2 separate regions of the Homo sapiens genome follow, and region 1 is linked to region 2. The links are contacts of gene promoters, found by promoter capture Hi-C in human tissues and cell types (Jung and others, 2019). All regions are on one chromosome and are shown on one strand. Each heading gives the region's core, a stretch centred on a gene start or on the middle of the fragment in contact. The rest is flanking DNA. Distances are from core to core; before and after follow the strand shown. Region 1 holds the start of AGO1 (argonaute RISC component 1). Region 2 holds the start of PSMB2 (proteasome 20S subunit beta 2).

Evidence for each region. Contacts are between HindIII fragments. The study calls those that stand out against the background at their distance.
Region 1: a contact is called between a fragment that was not itself captured here and the fragment with the promoter of PSMB2 in region 2, in 1 of the 25 tissues and cell types used here (hippocampus).

What each region holds. Positions count from the first base shown.
Region 1 is chr1:35,880,440-35,886,646 of GRCh38, reverse strand. AGO1 (argonaute RISC component 1) reads right to left here and starts at 3,438. Exons shown (of 19, transcript NM_012199.5): 1 at 3,201-3,438. The coding sequence starts at 3,225. RefSeq lists an enhancer at 226-865 and a silencer at 3,216-3,675. The HindIII fragment of the contact is 3,416 bases long and covers 1-3,135 here.
Region 2 is chr1:35,636,973-35,643,179 of GRCh38, reverse strand. PSMB2 (proteasome 20S subunit beta 2) reads left to right here and starts at 1,654. Exons shown (of 6, transcript NM_002794.5): 1 at 1,654-1,838. The coding sequence starts at 1,748. RefSeq lists enhancers at 749-1,713, 1,466-1,925, 1,714-2,679. The HindIII fragment of the contact is 3,605 bases long and covers 1-2,794 here.

The DNA.
Region 1 (6,207 bases), core at 178-2,677, 240 kb before region 2:
TCCCTCCCCAAGTTCTTATATTTCATTCACCTTCTTCCCCTCCCAGACTGAATAATCATTTGGGGCCTTCGGAGAAAGATAACTCCTAGAGCTGGGGGGCTAGTTAGAAATGATGGGGGATGGGACAGACACTCTAGCCTCAAAGCCTTCTCTTCCCCAGAAACCCGACTACATACCACACATAGCCTTAGAGCACCTTCCTCTCCAAAGAGGCTTTGGGAAAACAGGGGAGCCCACACCCCCACTTCATCTCCAAACTAGGAAAGACAGCAGGAAGCAGGAACCTCTCTCCCATTACATCCCCCTGAAAGCCTAACAACAGCACTGTCTCCTCCCCGCCCCCCTTACCCCAGCTTTTAGTCTGAGAAAGGGAGACACTTCCCTACAGACCCAGACAGGGACAGACGGCCACTTTGTGATGCAGATGAGGGCCCCAGCACAGAGGACAAAGCTTGGGCCTAGGGGGAAAGGGGCGGGACCCTTCTCTTCAGACAAAAGCAAGGAGGGAGGGGCCCTGAAAAGGACACTCCCCCTCCCCCATCCCCAAGGAGCCCAGAGAAGGAAAAGTAACAGAGCTGAAAACCCTGGCTCAGGATTCCTTTCTTGCAGTTCTGAGGCCCACACACCTCCCAAGGAGCCAGACTGCCTATTCAAAAGACACAAATTCAAGGTTAGGTTAGGTTAGGTTAGCTGGTGGGCAAGCAAAGACTAACAAGCCAATCTCTCCAAAAAGGATCTGTTCCATGTGAGTATACACTTTATTAAATATCCACATACGTGCTTAACCATTTATGTTCACACTTGAATGTGATTTGATTTAATTAATAAACATGTATTCTGTGCCAGGGCCTATACACTAGGCACTTGCTAGTTCTACAAATAAACCAGACACTGCTTCTACCCTCAGGGAGCACCCAGTCCACTGTATGTGCTTGGAACACACCTGAGCACAGAAGGCAGACCTGGGCATAAGCCCAGTGAGGCTAGCAACAATGCTTTAGTTTTTGGGGGGTTTTTTGTTGTTGTTTTTTACACAACGCTTTAGTTTTGTGTATTATGTCCTCAGGCCACCTTGGGACACCACTCTAACTTCTTATAAGAGAACAGTCCGGGCCTAGGAAGGAGGCAGTTATGGGGTCCCTCAATTTGCAGCTTCCAGACTGAATCTCAATTATACCCTTTACTGAGGCAAAGCCTGTCCTATTCGGCTTTTCCCAAGGCTTTGGCTGACTCCAAACAGCAGGTTCTAGCTCCTTTCCTATAAGCTTATTTTTTGTAACAAATTTTTAAAAAGTCAATTTTTCATCACTCCAGAGCCTATTAGGAATTCATCAGGATAAAAATCATTAGTCTAGAATGGGTACCAGCAACCAGCAATCCATGTGGACCTCAATGACCTACCCCACTACTCTAGTTCATGGGTTGTTGGAAATAGTCCCCAGCCTTGAAAAACAGAAGTTCCTGGGATGGAGAGAGGGTCCTGACAGAGAGGAAGTACTCAAGTCAGTTGCTCCCTGTGCTTATCCTTACGACTACACAGTCTATACAAGGCTGGTTGTTAAGAGGGAAAACAGTCACTAAGTACTTAGAGATCACTAAATGGATAACTTGAGTGAGGTCGTAGGAGCTATTTCCTTGGGAGGGTGGGAGGGAGTTAGGTCTGCTACAAAAAAAACAAAATAATTCCACTAGGAAAGTAATGAAGTTCATGGCCTAAATGGAAATTTGATTCCCATCCCCAGACCAAATGTAAGGAAGTGGTGAGAGATGACCTGAAGGATTCCCAGGTCCAGGCTCCTCGTCCCATCACAGGGTAAGACACTTAAGACACAAGAGGTATCACCACCCCACAGCCCATCCTAAGGACTCCAGTTTTCTTGAGGCAATCCTGCCTCAGTTTATCCTCTGTTCCTATGTCTTTTCCTCCTCATTGCCTGCAAATAAGAAGTTAAGGCTATCACCTAGGCCTCACCAGGATGAAGGCTATAAACTCCCCCATCCTCCAACGTGTTTGTAGGGTTTAGATCTTGGCTCTAAAGACAGCCCTGACAGTTTCTGGGGAGTGGGGAGAGGAAAACGGAAAGATATCCAGTGGAAGATAGGAGCCATGAAAATATTAAGAAATATTAGAATAAATGTTATAAATGTAGAGTGTAACCTTAACAGACAATTCAATGGAAAATCTTTGGATTAAAAGCCCCCATCACTACTCAGTATTGGAGCAGAAACTTGCAAACCAAGCAGACAACTCCTTCCAGGTAGCCCCTGCCCTGTCCTTGATTCCTCCGTAACCAATACCTTTCCTAAGGCCTATCTTCAGGAGGACCCACCCCCAGAACCCATCGCTTCGGTCCCAGTCTTTCCTGTGGCAGAAAAATGCACTTTGGCAGCTTCCCTCAACCCATTCTTAGCAAACTGTGACTGAGGGCCAAGTGTAAGAGCCCCTAAAATGGGGGAGGGGACCATAACCATTTGCACACTGCCAGCATAACCTAAGAGAGAATGCACCCCATCAGCGCGCTCCTTTTTCCAAGCCAAACGGGGCGGGGCGGGGGGGTGTGGAGAGGTGGGGGTATTCGGACAGCCACGCCCCCACCACGTCGGGCAGCCCCTTCCAGCTGCCACCTCCGCGCATGCTCTGGAGCCTCCGCTCCGACTCCCCAGACCCACGGGGGGTAATCCCGGGACTGGGTCCCCACCCACCGCCCCCTGACCCTCGCCCTCGCGTCAGGCCCAGTGGGGCGGAGCTCACAGTCCAGCTCTGGCGCCTTCTCCCAAGAGACATTAGCCTATTCCAGCCCAGCGGAGCCCCCGCCCCCGGCATGCGGTAGCTCCAGGCCCATCTGTGTCGCCCCCTCCTCTCCTGGACACCTGGAGCCCGTCCCCTGCCACCTGCCGGGCCTCTCCGTAGGCCTCCACGGATGTCTGGGAGTCCTTCCGTGCGTGCAGGCCCTTCTCCCAGATTACTTCCAACCCGCAGGACTGTATACAGCCTCCTTGGACAAACAGCCCCCATCTCAGGGCTCTCTTCACATGGTTCTCCCCCGGAACTGCACACAGCCTCCTTCAAACTGGGCCCCCATCGTGGGAGAGCCCTTCTCCTCACTCAGGAGCGCTTCCATCACTTGGAAACCACGCTTTTCATGCGGGATCCCCCAGTCCTTGGAGCATGCACCGTTCCCCCTCCTGGGGACCCTTACCTGCTCCCGAGGGTCCCGCTTCCATCCCATATACCCGTGCGGAGGTCAGGCGGCCCGGAGACTGTGAAGTCCAGCGTGAGGGGCCTAGGTACCCCACACTCTCGCTGCTCGGGATCCCGGGCCGGGCTCGGCTCCCCTACCAAGCCCGGCCGCTCGCGCCGCCGCCCCCGCAGCCTCCGTTGCCGCCGCCGCGGAGCCTGCAGCAGCTCCCACTGCGAGCGCCCGGCCAGCTGCCAGTGCGCAGGCGCGACCGCCGGGCCCAGGGGGCGGACCGGAACGAGTCAAGCGGGGCGCTCCGACGGCAACAAAGGCCAATGGAGAGGGGCGGGGGCACCGGGGACCCAAGGCAGCGGCCCCTGGCGGTCACCCGTCGCCATGCAGCCCGGCGGGAGGGCGCCAGTAGAGGTGCCTTGGAACCGCGCAGTGGTATAAGTGGGGCAGGGCGAAGGGACATCCCGCCACAGCAGCCTTCAGCCCTGTGTCTTTTCCCCAAATAGGTCCCTCCAAACCTACACACAGCCCCCGCCTGTCGCACCGAGCTGCGCGCACACATTATGGGAACCCCACTTCATTCCCAGACCCCCTGGCACTCCAGCGCCCAGGGGCCCTGCCTCCCACCTCTCCTCCCAATCACCCTCATCCTTCAAGCCTTGGCTGCAAAGCGACTGCCTCCACGAAGTCTTTCTCCGTCCCTAGTCACTGAACTCACTGACGCCACCCCCTCTTCCACGCCATGTGCTGGACGCTGAGACCACAGATAAGTAGAGACGCGGCCTACCCTGGAAGATGTCACAGTTTGAACTTAAGTGCAGCTACAGAGCTCTATCCGCCGGACCTGGGAAGCACCTGCCTCCACTTTCTCATCTACAGTTCATGCCTGAACTGTCAATCAGCTTCTGCCCTCATCACGTCACTTAAATGACTTTTGGGGTTGACATCCAAAGGATACTTTTCAATTATTTCTCTGCAGCATCTGTCACTGTGCCTCTACTTCCCTTCTGAGCCTTCTACTTGGCTGCGGCATCTTCTGCAGTCTCCTATTGCCTAAGTCCTTTTCAGTCTTTCTAAAGGGCCCCTTTTGCTTTTGCCTCATTAACTGTTCACTGTGGTTCCAAACCCAGCTCTCTTCTCATTCCACTCTCCCCTTAAAGGTCTCATCCACTCTTACGGCCCAACTATCCTTCCAAATCTCTGTTTCCAACCATGTCTCATACTCACATTTCCAAGTGTTTGCTGGACAGCTCCACCTGGATATCCTACCAGCACTTCAAATTTAAGAAGTCCAAACCAAACACTTTATCTTTCACTCACAAACATACTTGCCCTGTGCTTCCTATCTCAGCGAACAGCACCTTCATGTCAGAAATGACAGTTCCTCTATCCCTTGTTCTTTCCATCTATTCAGCTGTTCACCACGTCTTGACATGTTTACCTTCTGAACTGCTCTCACATGATTCACTGCCATTCTGATGGTTTCTTATGCTGGTGCAGACCCTTATCATATCTTGCTAGACGTATCACAACCACTTCCTTGCTAGTCTCAAAGTTTCTGGGAACTCCCATTCTCCCTCCTATTCGGTCTGGTGCAGTGATAGGCGGGGTAAGAGACCCAGCTCAAACATCACTTTCCCATAAACTCACAAATTTTTGATGCCTGCTTTACACTAGATGCCATGCAGAGGCTGGGAACTTAAGGGATGGACCATAACCGGTCCTTACTCATGAGGAGATTAATTTCTGACACTTATACCATGCCTTGCTTCTAGAGGTTCTCAAACAGCAACCATCAGAATCACCTGGAAAGCTTGTTAAAACTTGGATTGGTGGCTGGGCGCAGTGGCTCACGCCTGTAATCCCAGCACTTTGGGAGGCCAAGGCGGGTGGATCACCTGAGGTCAGGAGTTCAAGACCAGCCTAGCCAACATAGTGAAGTCTCGTCTCTACTAAAAATACAAAAAATTAGCCAGGTGTTGTGGCAGACACCTGTAATCCCAGCTACTCAGGAGGCTAAGGCAGGAGAATAGCTTGAACCGGGGAGGGGGAGGTTGCAGTGAGCTGAGATCACGCCATTGTACTTCAGCCTGGGCAACAAGAGTGAAACTCCGTCTCAAAAAAAAACAAAAACCAAAAAACAAAACTTGGATTGGTAAGCCCTGCCTCTAGAGTTTTCGATTCAGTAGGTGTTGGGTGGGACCCAAAAATGTGCATTTCTAACAAGTTTCCAGATAAGGCTGATGATGCTGCCGATCTGGGGACTATGAGAATTACTGCTTTACATACGAAGTAGAGGTGAAGAACAAAGACTCTGGAGCCAGACTGTCTCGGTTTCAATATTGGCCCTGCATTTACTAGACATGTAATAGTAGGCACATTATTTAACTTCTCCGTGTCTCAATTTCCTCCTCTGTAAAATGGCAGTGGTAATAGTACCTACCTCATTCGGTTGTTGTGAAGATTAAATGAGTTAATACATAAAAACACTTCAGTGGCCGGGCACAGTGGTTCACGCCTGTAATCTCAGCACTTTGGGAGACCAAGGCAGGCAGATCACCTGAGGTCAGGAGTTCGAGACCAGCCTGGCCAACATGGTGAAACCCCATCTACACTAAAAATACAAAAATTAGCTGAGCATAATGGCACACGCCTGTAGTCCCAGCTCCTCGGGAGGCTGAGGCACAAGAATCGCTTGAACCTGGGAGGCAGAGGTTGCAGTGAGCTGAGATCATGCCACTGCACTCCAGCCTGGGTGACAAAGCAAGACTCCATCTCAAAAAACAAAAAACAAAACGAAACAAAAACACTTTAGAACAGTGCCTAAAAAGAATGCAAGCAAAATATCAGCTGCTATCATAATCATTACTTGCCTCTCACACTATATTCTTTTTTTGAGACAGGGTCTTACTCTGTTACCCAGGCTGTAGTGCAGCTGCACAATCTGGACTCTGCAGTCTCCACCTCTCAGGCGCAAGTAATTCTCCCACCTCAGTCTCCCGAGTTGCTGAGACTA
Region 2 (6,207 bases), core at 405-2,904:
ATCCGCTCGTCTTGGCCTCCCAAAGTGCTAGGATTACTGGCGTGAGCCACTGCCCCTGGCAACACTGAGTATCTCGGTACACAAATATTTGGACTGTGTGTCCAAACATTTCTTTTGGACATATTCAAAAGGTTATGCATATTTAACAGATATTAAAATTGTTCTCTATAAAAAGGTTGTACAACTTAGAACCTTACCCCCAATTTATACTTTCTCATTGTTTCTTATTTCCCATTTTCCTAATTACCATCAAGGTTGAGGATCTTTTCATGTTTATTGGCCATTCGTGTTGCTTCTTTTGTGAATTGTTTTTCTTAGTCTTTGGTCTTTTTTTATTTTTTATTTTTTTTTTTGAGATGGAGTCTCTCTGTTGCACAGGCTGGAGTGGAGGGGCGCTATCTCGGCTCACTGCAATCTCCGCCTCCTAGGTTCAAGCAATTCTCCTGCTTCAGCCTCCGGAGTAGTACAGGCGCCTGCCACCACGCCCAACTAATTTTTTGTATTTTTAGTAGGGACGGGGTTTCACCATATTGGCCAGGCTGTTCTCGAACTCCCGACCTCTTGATCCGCCCCCGTGCCCTGCCGGGTCTTTTAAAAATGGTATTGTCTCACCCGGCTCCCCTCCCATTGGTTTGTAGGAATATCTTTTAAGTTATAGATATTAACTTTTTCCTTTCTTCTGTCTATAAGGTCCAAAATAGTAACTATTTCTACAATTGAAACATTCCCAATTTACATTTACTGTTGAGCATGATAATGACTTTCACCACATAGAGACGTGTAATTTTAGGTAGTCAAATCTGTCAAGTCTTTTCTCATATTGCTTCTGGGTTCCCTGTCAAGCTTAGAAACACATCTCTTCCAAAAATTACAGAAATATTTTTCTACTTTTTCTTCCATGTTTGTATCTCTCTCCCTCTCTTTTTTTTTTTTTTTTTTTTTTTTTTTTTTTTTTTTTTTTTTTTGAGACGGAGTTTCGCTTTTGTTGCCCAGGCTGGAGTGCTCACCGCAACCTCCGCCTCCAGGGATCAAGCGATTCTCTGTCTCAGCCTCCAGAGTAGCTGGGATTACAGGCATGCGCCACCACGCCCAGCTAATTTTGTATTTTTAGTAGAGACGGGGTTTCTCCATATTGGTCAGGCTGGTCTCGAACTCCCAAGCTCAGGTGATCCGCCTGCCTTGGCCTCCCAAAGTGCTGGGATTACAGGCGTGAGCCACTGCGCCCGGCCATGCTTATATCTTTAATCCAACCATATACTATTTTTGTGAAGGATGGAAGTAAGGCTCCCCTCAAGTTAATTTTTCTCCAATCTGGCTTGCAGGAAAGGGGTTTCTGGGGAGATTTTACCGAGCAACGTAGGGAAACGGCTGCCTGGCTACCTACCCCTTTTTGACACCCACACGTGCTCGGCACCTTACATACACTGCGTGATTTTATCCTAAAGCCACTTTTAAAATCTTAGTGTGTAAACAGAGAAACTGGGCGTCACATAAGGCAAGTGACCTGCACAGCCTGCTCCGGAGGAGACCCGTACGATCCCAGAGACAAGCACTGAACATAAGGCACCCGGCGCCGCGCCCGCTTTGCAACCTCTCGCGACAGTTGTACGTCATCCGAGAGCGCCGTGGAAGTCGTGCTGCAGGCGTCGCGCCAATCTTCGCTCTGAGGTGCTGTCTCACCGGTGAGACCTGGAAGCGGGCGAGTCTCGTGCTGTGTCGGACCTGCAGCCCCTGGCCTTCCGCCACCATGGAGTACCTCATCGGTATCCAAGGCCCCGACTATGTTCTTGTCGCCTCCGACCGGGTGGCCGCCAGCAATATTGTCCAGATGAAGGACGGTGAGAGGAAGCAGGGGAGGCCCGGCCAGGCCTGGGGTGTAGGAGCGGCCAGAAGGAGTTTGTCGGGGGTTGAATAAGTACCAGGGAGGATCTGAGAGATGGAAGCCGGCCTGCCCTGCCCGTACTTATTTTATTTATTTATTTATTTTTTCGAGAGGGGTTTCGCTCTTGTTGTCCAGGCCGGAGTGCAATGGCGCGATCTCGGCTTAGCACAGTCTTTGTCTCCCGGGTTCAAGCGATTCTCGTGCCTCAGCCTCCCGAGTAGCTGGGAACAGATATGCGCCACCACGCCTGGCTAATTTTTGTATTATTAGTAGAGATGTGGATTTCTCCATATTGGTCAGGCTGGTCTCGAACTCCCGACCTCAGGAGATCCGCCCGTCTCGGCCTTCCAAAGTGCTGGGATTACAGGCGAAACAGGCAGACAGGTCTGGGACCTTGGCATTTGCTCCTCCAGGGCTCCTGGGTCAGTGCTCTGCTCTGGCCTTCGCTAAATGCTTCTTGCTTGGTGAGAGTTGCCTAAAGGGAATCAGTTTATAAATGTTTAAGCGCCTGCCCAGAGCCTGGCTCTCTAGATCCCCGAATCTCTGATAAGTTTCCTGGTGTCGCTAGTAATGAGGTTAGTTTGTTGGCGGCATAAGGTGGGATCCTGAGGAGAGTGAGACTGTGGGACTGGCTCTCTAGATCCCCGAATCTCTGATAAGTTTCCTGGTGTCGCTAGTAATGAGGTTAGTTTGTTGGCGGCATAAGGTGGGATCCTGGGGAGAGTGAGACTGTGGGACCAGAAGCTTGGCATTTTCCTTCTTCCCGTGGCTCCCGATTCTTCTTTTCCAGTTTTCCAGAGCAATGGCTGCCAGGTTTTCCTTATATTTAAGTAGTTAATGGAGTTAAGAGATTGGAGCCCTGTCATTTATTTGCCTTATGAGTTTGTATAAGTTATTTTGCAGTGCCCAGATTTCCTCATCTTTAAGATTAGCAATACCAAACTCACAAACTTGTCGGGAGGATTTAGTAAATGAGTTATGTGCAAATCCTTAGCACTAGGCAGGTACTTAATAATACTAAGTGTACGTAGGTGCCCAAACATATTTGTCAAATGACCATTAAGTCATCTGAACCAAAGCTTAATACTTTTTCAACAGTAGCACGTCTTTGATCAGTTAAGGAAAACAAACTTAGATTCTGCAGAAAAACAACCAAAATCTTCTTAAAATTATGTATTGAGTAATTTAGTATAGATAGTATAGTATAGTATAGTATAGTATAGTATAGTATAGTATATTATAGTACTTAGGGGCAAAATGTCTGGACTCACTGCATAGGTTGAACCCAGGTTCTGCCACTTGTGACCTTAAGCAAATTTCTCTAACTCCGTGCCCTAGAGCTAACATCTATAAGGTGGTAATGTAATAGCACCTATCTCAAAAGGTTAATGAATTAATGTAAATCACTTAACATAGCACCTTATACTTTATGAAATTCTATGATTAGTTTGTAGAAGTTTTGTTTGTAAGCCAGTCCTTCCAAAGGAGTGAATTTGTTTTGAGAGTAAATTTGTCCATTATTTTGAATACTAAGGTCTTTGACAAGCAAGTGATTTTAACATTAAGTCATGTCTAGGTAGAACAATAATCATTATCTTTACAGGTCTTTTGTTTCATCCCAAATGTATGTGAAATCACATTGAAAAGTAGAATGTGCTTTAAGCCTACTTATGTACACAGTACTTTTAGTCATTATAGGGGATGCAGTATATTACTTATAACCCATAGAAGAGTCCAAGACATTAAGAAAACAAGGAAATAAATGCTGCAAGATGATTTTATATAATAAAAGAAGTATTACTAGTTAGTAGTAGGTTGGTTTTTAAATTAATGAGTTCAAGAGCAAATCCTAAGAGTAATAAAAGAAAGATAACTATGGTATGGGAGAAAGATGAATTTGAGTTAGTTCTTGAAAAATAATTGGAAATAGTTGCACTCTGCACATTCCAATTTTCCCTATAGTCTTTTCTGGTATAAAACAAATTATAATAGAAATTTTAGTATTGTATGATGACTTTTTTATTTATTTTATTTATTTATTTTTGAGACAGAGTCTCGCTCTGTCACCCAGGCTGGAGTGCAATGGCGCGATCTCGGCTCACTGCAACCTCCACCTCCTGGGTTCAAGCGATTCTCCTGCCTCGGCCTTCCAAGTAGCTGGGATTACAGGCGCCCGTCACCATGCCCAGCTAATTTTTGTATTTTTAGTAGAAACGGGGTTTCACCAGTTTGGCCAGGCTGGTCTCAAACTCCTGACCTCAGGTGATCCACCTGCCTCCGCCTCCCAAAGTGCTGGGATTACAGGCGTGAGCCACCGTGCCCAGCCGTCTGATGACTTTTTTCTAATCATTCATTTCACGATGGAGCTTGTTTAGAGTAGGCAAGAATGCTGAAAAAATAGTAACCTTCTGGGACTCCTTTCTCCAAGTATAAAATGATAATACAACTTCCAATCAATTGTCCAGTATGTCACTTTGTAAAAACATTTTGATACTATAGAGTAGACATTTGCTGAGGATTGCCACCTTATTAAGTGGTATAACTTTTGGTTTGCTTATATGCCGCATTTCATGTCTCTTTTCTCTTGGCCTATGTAGAATTGCTTTTAAGTTACTCGGAGTACTCCAGCCCACACAGAATTCTCTCTTTTCTGAATTCCTATAGCATGTATAATCCGAACTACATTATCTAACACTGAGTATCATAATATTGGACATGTATAGAATTCATTAGTTTTTCTCACTTGTGAGTTAGACAGGGGTAAGTCATATTATTAACATTTCACACATTTGGAAATAACATTTCACACATCTGGAAACTGGGGCTTAGAGAGGACAAGTAATTTGCCGAAGTTCAGAGTGCCAAGTCCACATCATAACCAAGGTCTCTTGGATTCTAGTTCAGTTGGTTTTCCACAGTATGACATGCTAATGTTGTTCATTTTGTTGGCCATTTGTTTCATGTATGTGGATCTCGTAAGTTCCTCGTCAAGAATCAGAAATTCCCCAGAGCTACACAGGCAGTTTCCTGTACAACTCAGGGGTCTCTAAGTATCTATCTCTTGTGTTTTTATTAAATATGTTGCCCTCTGCTACTCATTGGACATATTCAGTGTTTAAAAAACATTTTTGGCCTTGTATTAAGCTAATTTTAAAGTTGAACAGGTTACTGCCTAGGATTTTAGCCTTTCTTCTAAGTGTGACATAAGTTCTTTGTAAACAAGCTCCCCCTTCAAATAAAAATATCTTTTTTCTTATTATAAAAATAATGCGAACTTATTGAATAATGCTTTCTTATAAAAGTGAGGCATGTTAAGTATAGAAGTTTTAGGAAAAACCAACAAGCAAAAGAAGGAAACGAAAACTGCCCATACTCTTACCACTGGCAAGCACTTAGAATATACCCTTCTGCTCCTTTTTCTTTGCATAGATAATATAAGTGAATGTTTTTCGTTTATTAACAAGTTTGCAAACTAACAATCTTTAAATCTAGCCTGCATAACAAATAAAAGTGTGTTTGTTTAGGAGTTTTGAGGCAATTTGATATTATCTACAGGTGCATTTTGTGTGTTTTTTCCCTCCAAGTCTAAGAAGCCATATTACTGGTATCTACAACTCTGAAACACTTGTAAAGTATTTGACAGTAGCATTTTGTTCTTTAAATCCTATTAAAGGATTTTGGCATTTCAGAAGCTTTCAAACAGGAAACGTGTCTCCCAGGGAGGATTATTCAGCACTATTTGAAAAATGAAAAGTGAAAGTGAAAGTGAGATAGGAAGATTTAGGCCTTTTCTGAAGCTGCAGACTGAATGTGGAGTTTTCTTCCTTAGGCAATAACTGTAACCTGAATATTTATTTATCTGTCTAATCTGAATGACTCTGGTTCAGCTAGATAAGATTAGAGTATTAGGATTTTTGTGAGGTATTTTAAATAGCTTACTGTCAAAATATTCACTAGAATTTTTGCTTTGGCAATCATTTTAATTTTCTCTTTTTCTTTGGAAGTGGAATTTGTTTACTTTTTAAAGTGATTAATATTCTCAGTTGATTTTCTATTCTTTCTTGAAATGGTTCCTTAATTTTAATTATAGCACCAGTCCTTTTCATATATGCTTTTGTATGTGTATAAATATAATAACTAACATTTGTAGTTGTGGAAACATTTTAGGGCTTTGTTATCATGAGCCTAAAGATAATCGCCATTGGCTGGATTCCTTCAGTTTCTTCTGTCGTTCTGTTCCTTGCATTTCAAATGCCTTTAAATGCTTTAAATTGTATTTTCAATTGGTAGCTTTCATGTATATTCTCCAACCGAAATTGGCATTA